Regions from separate parts of the Homo sapiens genome. Here region 1 is linked to region 2. The links are contacts of gene promoters, found by promoter capture Hi-C in blood cells and fetal thymus (Javierre and others, 2016). All regions are on one chromosome and are shown on one strand. Each heading gives the region's core, a stretch centred on a gene start or on the middle of the fragment in contact. The rest is flanking DNA. Distances are from core to core; before and after follow the strand shown. Region 1 overlaps ZDHHC24 (zDHHC palmitoyltransferase 24). Region 2 holds the start of RBM4B (RNA binding motif protein 4B).

Region 1 (4,575 bases), core at 167-2,666, 140 kb before region 2:
CAGGATAATCGCTTGAACCCGGGAGGTGGAGGCTGCAGTGAGCCAAGATTGCGCCATTGCACTCCAGCCTGGGTGACAGAGTGAGAAAAAAAAAAAAAGCCATTCTCAGTTACTTAATGTGTGCCGCCACAGAAAAGCCAGTATCCTGTGCCATCTTGGCCCACAGTCAGCAACAAGTACCTGCTGAACTAACGGACTACGAGAGGCCATGAAATGTTACTCTAAGTGAGAGAAGCCAGGCACCAAAGGTCACATGTTTATCATCCCACTTATGTGAAACATCCTGAATAGGCAAGTCCACAGAGACAGAAAGATTAGTGGTTGCCAGGGGCTAAGGGGATTAGGGAGGAACATGGAGGGACCACTAATGGGTACGGGGTTTCTTTTTAGGATGAAAATGTTCTGGAATTAGACAGTGGTGATGGTTGCACTACATCATGAATGTACTAAAAGCCACTAAATTGTACACTTTAAAATAGTTAAAATGGGCCGGGTGTGGTGGCTCATGCCTGTAATCCCAGCAATTTAGGAGGCTGAGGCAGGTGGATCACCTGAGGTCAGGAGTTCCAGACCAGCCTGGCCAACATGGAGAAACTCCGTCTGTACTAAAAATACAAAAAATTAGTCGGGCGTGGTGGCGCATGCCTGTAATCCCAGCTACTCGGGAGGCTGAGGCAAGAGAATCACTTGAACCTGGAAGGCGGAGGTTGTGGTGAGCCGAGATCGCGCTATTGCACTCCAGCCTGGGCAACAAGAGCAAAACTCCATCTCAAAAAAAAAAAAAAAACCATTCTGTTTGAAGGTCCTGAGGCAGGCCAGAGGCACTTGTGAGACAAGCAGGTGGACGGTCTGCAGGTCTGCAAGCACAGGGAGAAGCCCAGGCTGGACAAACAGTTCTGCGAGTAGGGGGTGCAAGGCAACCCTGAGACTGTGGGCGCAGCTAGACCTGCCAAAGTGTGTAGAGTGAGGGGGGAATGGCACCTAGACAGGAGCACGGGGAAATCGGTTCTTGGGGATCAGATAAAAGATGAGAAAGGGCAACCACAAAGGAAGGTGAACGCACCAAGGTCCCAGCCATCGGTGATGCCAGGCGGAGAACGCTTCACGGGGGCTGGGGGCCAGCAGTGTCATGAGTCTAAAAGGTCTCATAAAGCAAGAAAGGGTCCTGGAGTGTGTGGAGACAGATCCCTGAGTGAGTGGTGGTGGCAGAAGCCAGGCTGGAGCAGGCAGGGAATGAGCAGCCATGAGCCTGGGCAAGTCCCTTGGGAAGCTTAGAGCAGGGCAAGCGCTGGAGGAGGATATGAGGGCAAGGGAGGGTTTGTCCAAGGTGGCAAACCAGGAGGGCAGAGAAGGCCTGGCCTGCAGGAGAGGCAGATGCCACAGCCTGAGGCCTCCAAGCAGGGAGGTAGGCACCAAATACAAGAAGCTGGGGGCAGTCAGCTGGGCTCGGGGAGTTGAGGACAGCACAATTTGGGATGTGCCAGCTGATGTCTCACTTTCTCAGTGCTGGAGCTTGGAGTGTGGGAGAGCAGGGAAGGTTTGAGCTGCTGTTGCTGGGAGTAGCAAGCTTACAAGCAAACGGGAAGGCCAGGCATAGCCGAGGGCCTGCTGAGGTCAGCAGCCATGAACATGGCATGGCATCAACCTGCCACAGACTGCCAATGCCTCTGGCTCTCAGCAGCCAGAGGCAGACACAGAGAAGCCAGGAAAGCACTGTGGAAGGAAGATGAGGGAGGAAGTTTGCGATGCTGGCAGGAGAATGGTGAGAAGGATGAGCTCTGAGCTGGACGTCGGTGGCGAAGGTGGAAAGGTACAGACGGGCGGTGAGGGCCACGAGCCTGCAGGCTCATGGAGCAGGTGCCAGGGCGTGGAGGAGTAAAAGACGGAGAGAAGAGGAGGTGGGCAGCAGAAAGAGGAAGATGGGTGGTTTGTGAGGGTGACTCATTTTTGGATTCTGACCAGGACTGGGGTGTGGACATGGGAGGAGGGAAAGGAAGGAAAAATGAAGGAGGAGGCCAAGAGCTAAGCCATCCAGGCATTGAGGGGGCTGTTCATGCAAACTTCCAGACACCCTTGATTTCCACAGGGCCCAGGGCGAAGAGAGAGTCTGTGACTGGAGCCAGAGTCTTCCGTGACTGAGGGGAGTGAGTGTTGACCACAAGGTGGTAGGGCAGTGCGGCTGAAGGGCCGGGACTCCTGGAGGGAGGCAGAGGAGGACCCATTGGGAAGCTGGTGTGGGCAGATGAAGATTCTGATAACCCCAGTGGGCCGCTTCCCGAGGCCTCCCCTGGGCTGTAGGTGGGGTCCATGCACAGAGCTGGGCTTGGATAGGATGAGGAGGCACAGTGACTACCCGGAGTAGCCGGGGAGGTTCCTCAACCACAGATCAAAGTGACAGAGGGAACCATGGAAAGGTCAGGAGGAAGGAATGGGGGCGAGAAAGGCCAAAGCATTCTGGGGGTAGAGAACAAAGAGTAAAAAGGACCAGCGAGGCTTCTATCTGTAGATGGGGGAAGAGGAACATATGTGTCGTCTAGAACATGGCATCTCAGGCAGCCTGCTGATCCAAGTCTGCCCTCCCCAGCTTCCCATAACTGGGCCTTCTCCTGCCTGTCACTTTCACTGGCTCCCCACTGTCCAGTCAAATAGGAGCCATCTCCTCACACCAGTTCTCAGGACCCCACCAGCCAGGCCTCCCCTACCAATCTGGCCTTAATTCTCACAATTCCCTGCCCACTCTCCAAGCCTTTGTTCCTATTGCTTCTCTCACTTAGAAATGCTCCTAGAATGCACTTCCACATCCCGCCATGCAGAGACTCCCACGAGTCTTTCTCCTCTCTCAACAACTCCAGGAATCTCCCAATTCTCCAGCCAGAACGCTGCACTTGTCTCAACACACCAGTTTCCATACTGCACCCCCGGGTGAATACCAAGCTGCCCTTACTGGCCATCACTGACACTGGGGCTGGGTCCCCCAGGCCAGAAAGCCCGTCTCCCACCAGAATGGGCTGTACTCCCCAGCCCAATACCAGGGCCCCTGCCTCTGTGCAGAGGCCTCCCAGGCTCCCCACCTGTGAGCAACATGAGCCAGGGAAGCAGGAGGAGGGCAGCCATGTGGAGGGGCGTGTGGGCTCGCAGCAGGGCCGACAGTGCAGGGCCCAGCAGCACAGAGACGTGGAGCAGGACGCCGGCGGCATGAAGCAGCAGGCACAGGAAGGGCCGGTAGTTGCCGAAGCCCACGCAGCGGCCCAGCAGGCGGCAGTGGTGGTCCCGACGCAGGATGCAGACGCGGCAGGCAGAGCAGTGTCCGCTGCGTGGCGGCACCTGGCTTTGGCATTGGTAGCAGTAACTGCAGGAAGGAACCACAGCGTCAGTTCCCCCAGCAGCTCAGATGCCCCATATTGTGCACAGGGCTGCCCCAGAGCCCATCCTGCGGAAGTGGCAACAGCCATTTGCCCTGGCTAAGCCTCAATTTCTTTACAAGTAAATGCAGGCTAAACAAGATGTCCCAGGCCCTTCTAGTTCTAGCACTACAGGTCTGAGGTCTCTTCCAGCCCTAACATCCCCAGTCCTGAGACCTCTCTCAAGCCACTGACATCCAGCAGCAAATCCCTCCCTTCCTCCACGGTCACCCCTTTGTCCAGGTCACTAGGAACTCTCTGGATTACTGCAATAGCCTCTTGACTGGTCTCCGATTCCACCTTTGCCCCACCTCGTACGGTCTCACCCCAGCAACCAAACTGACCCTCCTCTGCTTAAAACCCTCCTGTGGTTCTCCAATTTATTTCTAGTAAAAAGCAAAGCCTTCAGTGTCCTACAACATCCTTCTATCTGTGACATCTCTTCCCCTCTCTTACTGCACTCCAGCCACACTGGCCTTCTTGCTGTTCTGGGAACATACATGCTGGGTACACAACTGCCTCAGAGCCTTTGCACCACTTGTTACCTCTGCCTGGAACACCTTTCCCTCAGATTCCCACATGGCTAACCGCCCCCCACGCCCTCCAAGTTTTTTGCTCAAATGCCTCCTTCTCTATGAGGTCTACCTTGACCACACATTTATGTATATTATTTTAAAAATTAATTAAAAAAAATTTTTAGGGACAGAGTCTCGCTACATTACCCAGGCTGGAGTGTAGTGGTTGTTCACAGGTGTGATCATAGCACACTACAGCCTCAGTCTCAGCAAAAGCCTCTGCCTGGCATAAAATGTGTGTGTAGAGCCTGTACCTGGTGTAATTTTTTTTTCTAATTATAAATTGACAAATTCCAGTTGTATATACTTATGGGATACCAAGTGATGTTATGATTTATCAGTACAGCTTGGAATAAATCAAGCTAATTAGGATAGCCATTACCTCAAACACTCATATTTTTGTGATGAGAATTTACCACCTGTTTATTTATGTATTTATTTATTTGAGACGGAGGGAGTCTTGCTCTGTCACCCAGGCTGGAGTGCAGTGGCTCGATCTCGGCTCACTGCAACCTCCGCCTCCCAGGTTCAAACAATTCTCTTGCCTCAGCCTCCCCAGTAGCTGAGATTACAGGCACGTGCCGCCATGCCCGACTAAT
Region 2 (4,664 bases), core at 1,223-3,722:
CCTATGCTTTAAAGAGCAGCTAAAGGCCAAGGCATCACTGGCTGAAGCTGGAGATACTTGATGGTGCTCCTCTACCCATCTCCACTATGCAAACTTTCTTACCCTTCTCTGGTCAACTTTTCCTCTTCTCCCATTATTTTTCTCATTTTGTTTTTTAGTTTTAATAGAAGACCCAAAAGTACTTCTTAACAACCCCTTTAATGACACTCAGGGCAAAAAAGGTGTTGACTTAGGAACCACAAAAGTGGCTATGAACATGAGGTCCAAGACGATACTGTTAACAAAACACTTGTAGAACAGTGCTATCCAAAAGAATGTTCTATGATGATGGAAATGTTCTGTGTCTCTATTAATACGGTAGCCACAGGCCTCATGACTACTGAGTGCTTGAAACGTGTCTGGTATACACTTGAAAAACTGAATTTTAAATTTTATCTAATCTGTTAATTTCAATTTACTAAGCCGCATGTGGTTACCATATTAGCACAGTTCTAGAGTCTTCTGACAACCTCTTGTGGTATTAATGACAACATATGTACCTTTATTATCGGTATAAATAGTATGATATGCTCTACGATGCTTGTACTGAAATTTCTTCAGAAGCGGGACCATCATTCCCATTGAGTCTGATATATTTAGAAATTTCCTTTTCTGAGGGTGAAATGAACAGGTGGAGCAGAACACTCCATGGCATGTTTTTTTGACTCTGCTTGAAGAGACTGCACAACTTTGATCAACAAAAAGATACTCCCGCAGATCCAGACTTGCCACCCAGATTTATAATATAGGGCTTCCTCTAGATGTCTTTTTTCTTCTTTCCCACCAGTATCCACCCAAAGCAGTAAAGAATATAAATCTTAAGCACTTAAACCCTCAAATATAAGGCTTCCTGATCATCACCAAAGAAGCAGGTAAGCCACGGACCTTTATCCTCCCTTCTCTCATGAGGTACTCGTTTCCCCAAGCAGATTACACTTCCAACAGCACTCGAATCAATGCAAGAATCCCGCAGGGTAAAGTAACCCACAGTTTGTGATTCTATGCAGTCGGTGAGCAACATCTTAGCAAACCTGAAAAGGGGAAGTGTTTGCTTCCCCAGGGGTAAATTATGCTTAAGAGCGGTAAACATAATCTATTATTTCCAGCTAAAACAGAATGGAAGAGACCACCCAGCAAGTTCTATAGTCTTGTGTTCTTGCCTGTTTTGAGCTAGACCCCACTCGGCGCTACTACCCAGGCCCAGAGCAGTTCACCTTGAAACTCTGTGTTGTCAAGGCCCCTGATGGCCTCCACTGCATCCTCTGCCCGCTCCATGTGTACGAAGGCATAATCTTTCACGATGTCACATTCGATGACCGGACCATACTCCTCAAACTTGGCTCGAAGCTCTTGGTTGGTACAAGTGGGGCTGATGTTACCCACGTGTAACTTGGTTGAAGCTTTGCTCTTATTCTTGCTGGCTTCCACGTTGATGTTCACCCCATGAAGCTTGTAATGGTGCAGGTTGCGTATGGCATCCTCAGCTGCCGTCTTGTCTTCTATGTGCACAAAGCCGTAATTCTTAATGATGTCACATTCCAGCACCTTCCCATACTGCTCGAAGAGTGAGCGAATCTCCTGCTCTGTAGCCTCCCGGGGAAGGTTTCCGATGAACAGCTTCACCATCCTGACAAGAGCCTGGGAGAGAAACACAAGACTTCAAAAGTCAGGGGTGTGGTGGGAAATTTCGGTGCACTGCAGCATTTTCGTCTAATCCTCCAAAGTTCTTGCACCTTCAAGACCCTCGTACAGACATTCATTATTCTTCCTCAATAGAAGAAGGGCGGTTTGTTCTCGAGAAGTGCGAGCTATGCGTGACATGCAAACAGGAGGTCGAGGGTCAGCATGCATAGCCCAGTCTATCATCTCCGTGAAGTGGAGCGCAATGAAATACCAGAATTAGCTGCTTCATGTCTTAAAATGAGGGAAGAGAAAAGCCCAAGCAAAGGCAAGGGGCATCAATCGCAGTGCGCCTGGTAACAAGGTTTTGGAGGGAAATCTGTGTACCTCTCCTGCGCGCACTAGCGCCTTTCAAGATACTCTAAAAAGAAAAAAGTCCCCTTTCCCCCAAACCGGGGACCAACCACCTCGCCCCCAGCGGCCCACCCTCCAGCTTCTTCGCCCCAACAAAGACTCGACCCGACCCCTGCCCCGCCTCCTTCCGGAGACCCGGCCCCGCCTCCTCCCGTTGTCTTCCCAGACCTCCCGCTGCAAAATGAGAAACCCAAATCCGGGCCGTGCAGTCTGCCGGAGGCCCGGCCCGACCCGCCCCCGAGCTCCCCACATCACACACACACGACCCCCTCGCACCTCCGGGTGGCGGCAGCGACGGCGGCTCCCACGTCAGAGAGAACCTTACAAAATGGCGACGGCCGCTCGAGCCTGGACGCGACCGGGCCCTTTCTCGCGCGCCAGCTCACGCACGCGCGAGTGCGCGCTGCTTCCCTCCCCTTCCCCTCGCGGGAGCCGAGTGACCAATCCCGAGGCTGCATACAAATGACCACGCAGCACGGGGGCGGGGCCTGTTGGTGGTGGCGCGGCGCCGCGGAGGTCAGCCCACCCCCAGCCCCAGCCAGCCAGTCACCACCCTGGAAAGGGTCGCCACTGCTGCGTCAGAGGGGCTCTGAACGCAACCACTGCCTAGAAAAGCGGAGGCCTTGGGGAGTCGCTCACCACAATGGGTCCTGCTCTTGGGCCCTTTGAGGGGGGCGGGGAGCTAATGACAGAGGAATCTCCCCGAGGGCCCTAAAAAGGGGCTTTTGTAGCGGGCTGGCCGGCTTCTGTGGCAGCTTGGGGCAACATTTCAAAAATACAGGTGCGCCACATTTTAAGCAAAACTAGTCATTGTTTTGTAGCGCTTTAAACATTATTTTAAAGTTTGTCATTGCAGAGGTGTTATTTATTGCTACGGAAACTGAGAACCAAGGGGCAGAAAGATAACCTGGCAGAACTGGGACAGGCCTAAGAGGCATTGCTACCCAGGCTACGCTTAGTCATGTTTTGTTTGCTCGTGAGTATCCGTGGTCTGATTCTCTCTCACTCATTGTGTGTCCATCACAGTCCTGGTCTGTGGTGAGCACGCCAGAGGAATACTTGGTGGAGAGGCCCAGCGAGGTCCCTAGTTCTGGGTGGGACAGGGTCTCCTCGTACACACCAAGCTGGAAGTCTAGGCAACTGAGTTTCCCGACTGTCTAGCATTCAAAATTCAGCTGTGGTCCAAGGGCACCTCCTGGCGGTAAAAACAAGCTTAGGCGTGCCAGGTGCGGCGGCTCACGCCTATAATCCCAGCACTTTGGGAGGCCAAGGCGGGCGGATCACGAGTTCAGGAGTTCGACACCAGCTTGGCCAACATGGTGAAACCCCGTGTCTACTAAAAATACAAAAAATAGCCCGGCGTGGTGGCGGGCGCCTGTAATCCCAACTACTCGGGAGGCTGAGGCAGGAGAATCGTTGGAACCCGGGAGGCGGAGGTTGCAGTGAGCCGAGATGGCGTCACTGCACTCCAGCCTGGGTGACAGAGCAAGACTCGGTCTCAAAAAAAAAAAAAAAAGAAGTTTAGGCTGATTCCCCACTGTCACCTTCCAGCAAAGAGTAGCCTTTTATGGAGATTGATGGATTGGGTTTATCTCCTAGTAGAGCCCGCCAGGGAGGTTGTCAGCCACCATTCCTCATTTTAGTGGCTCCATAATGGCTTCTCTGATACCATCTGGGACACATTCCCCAGGCTGCCCTCTTCCACCCCAGCTACTTGGATATGTTCTTTACCTGAGTTCTTTTTGTTTCTCAGCCATTTCAGAAGAGGCACTGTCCTTCCAATTTTATTTTATTTTTATTTTTTGTTTAATTTTTTAAAGACAGAGTCTCACTGTGTCGCCCAGGCTGGAGGGCAGTGGTGCGATCTCGGCTTACTGCAACCTCCACCTCCTGCGTTCAAGCCATTTTCCTGCCTCAGCCTCCCGAGTAGCTGGGACTACAGGCGTGCGCTACCCCCCAGCTAATTTTTGTATTTTTAGTAGAGACAGGGTTTCACCGTGTTGGCCAGGCTGGTGTCGAACTCCCGACCTCAAGCGATCCGCTGGCCTTGGCATCCCAAAGTGTTGGGATTACAGGCGTGAGCCACCTCGCCCGGCCCTTAACTATTATTACTATTATTTTTGAGTCAGGGTGTCACTTTGTTGTCCAGGCTAGAGTGCAGTGGCACCATTATGGCTCACTGTAGCCTCGACCTCGCAGGCGCAAGTGATCTTCCTATCTTAGCCTCTGGAGCAGCTGGGACCACAGGTGTGGGCCACCCCATCCAGCTAATTTAAATTTTTTTTTTTTGTAGAGATGGGGGTCTCACTGTGTTGCCCAGGCTGGTCTCAAACTTCTGGGCTCAAGATGTTTCCACCACAGTCTCACAAAATGCTGGGATTCAGGTGTGAGCCACTGCACCCGGCTTATATGTGCTGCTAATTTAAAATAGCACTATCCTATGTTAATATTATCTAATGTTTATGCCCAAATTTCTCCTGGATTGTTACAAATGTCTTTTTACAGTTGATTTCTTCTAATCTGGACTTAAACATTGTACATTTGTATGCATTATGTAAATGGTGTGTTTTGAGTTGTATAGCTGTGTCTTA

What was found. Contacts are between HindIII fragments. The CHiCAGO score rates a contact against its expected background, and 5 or more counts as called.
Region 1: a contact is called between a fragment that was not itself captured here and the fragment with the promoter of RBM4B in region 2, in 12 of 17 cell types (naive B cells, total B cells, total CD8 T cells and 9 more). The highest score is 16.4, in naive B cells.

The regions. Positions count from the first base shown.
Region 1 is chr11:66,540,633-66,545,207 of GRCh38, forward strand. It overlaps ZDHHC24 (zDHHC palmitoyltransferase 24), which reads right to left. Exons shown (of 3, transcript NM_207340.3): 2 at 3,072-3,349. Among named protein-coding and RNA genes, the nearest start is that of ZDHHC24, 3.1 kb to the right of the region's middle. The HindIII fragment of the contact is 297 bases long and covers 1,269-1,565 here.
Region 2 is chr11:66,675,415-66,680,078 of GRCh38, forward strand. It overlaps RBM4B (RNA binding motif protein 4B), which reads right to left and starts at 2,473. Exons shown (of 4, transcript NM_031492.4): 1 at 2,350-2,473; 2 at 1,254-1,677. The coding sequence starts at 1,665. RefSeq lists silencers at 2,086-2,195, 2,396-2,675. The HindIII fragment of the contact is 1,797 bases long and covers 1,487-3,283 here.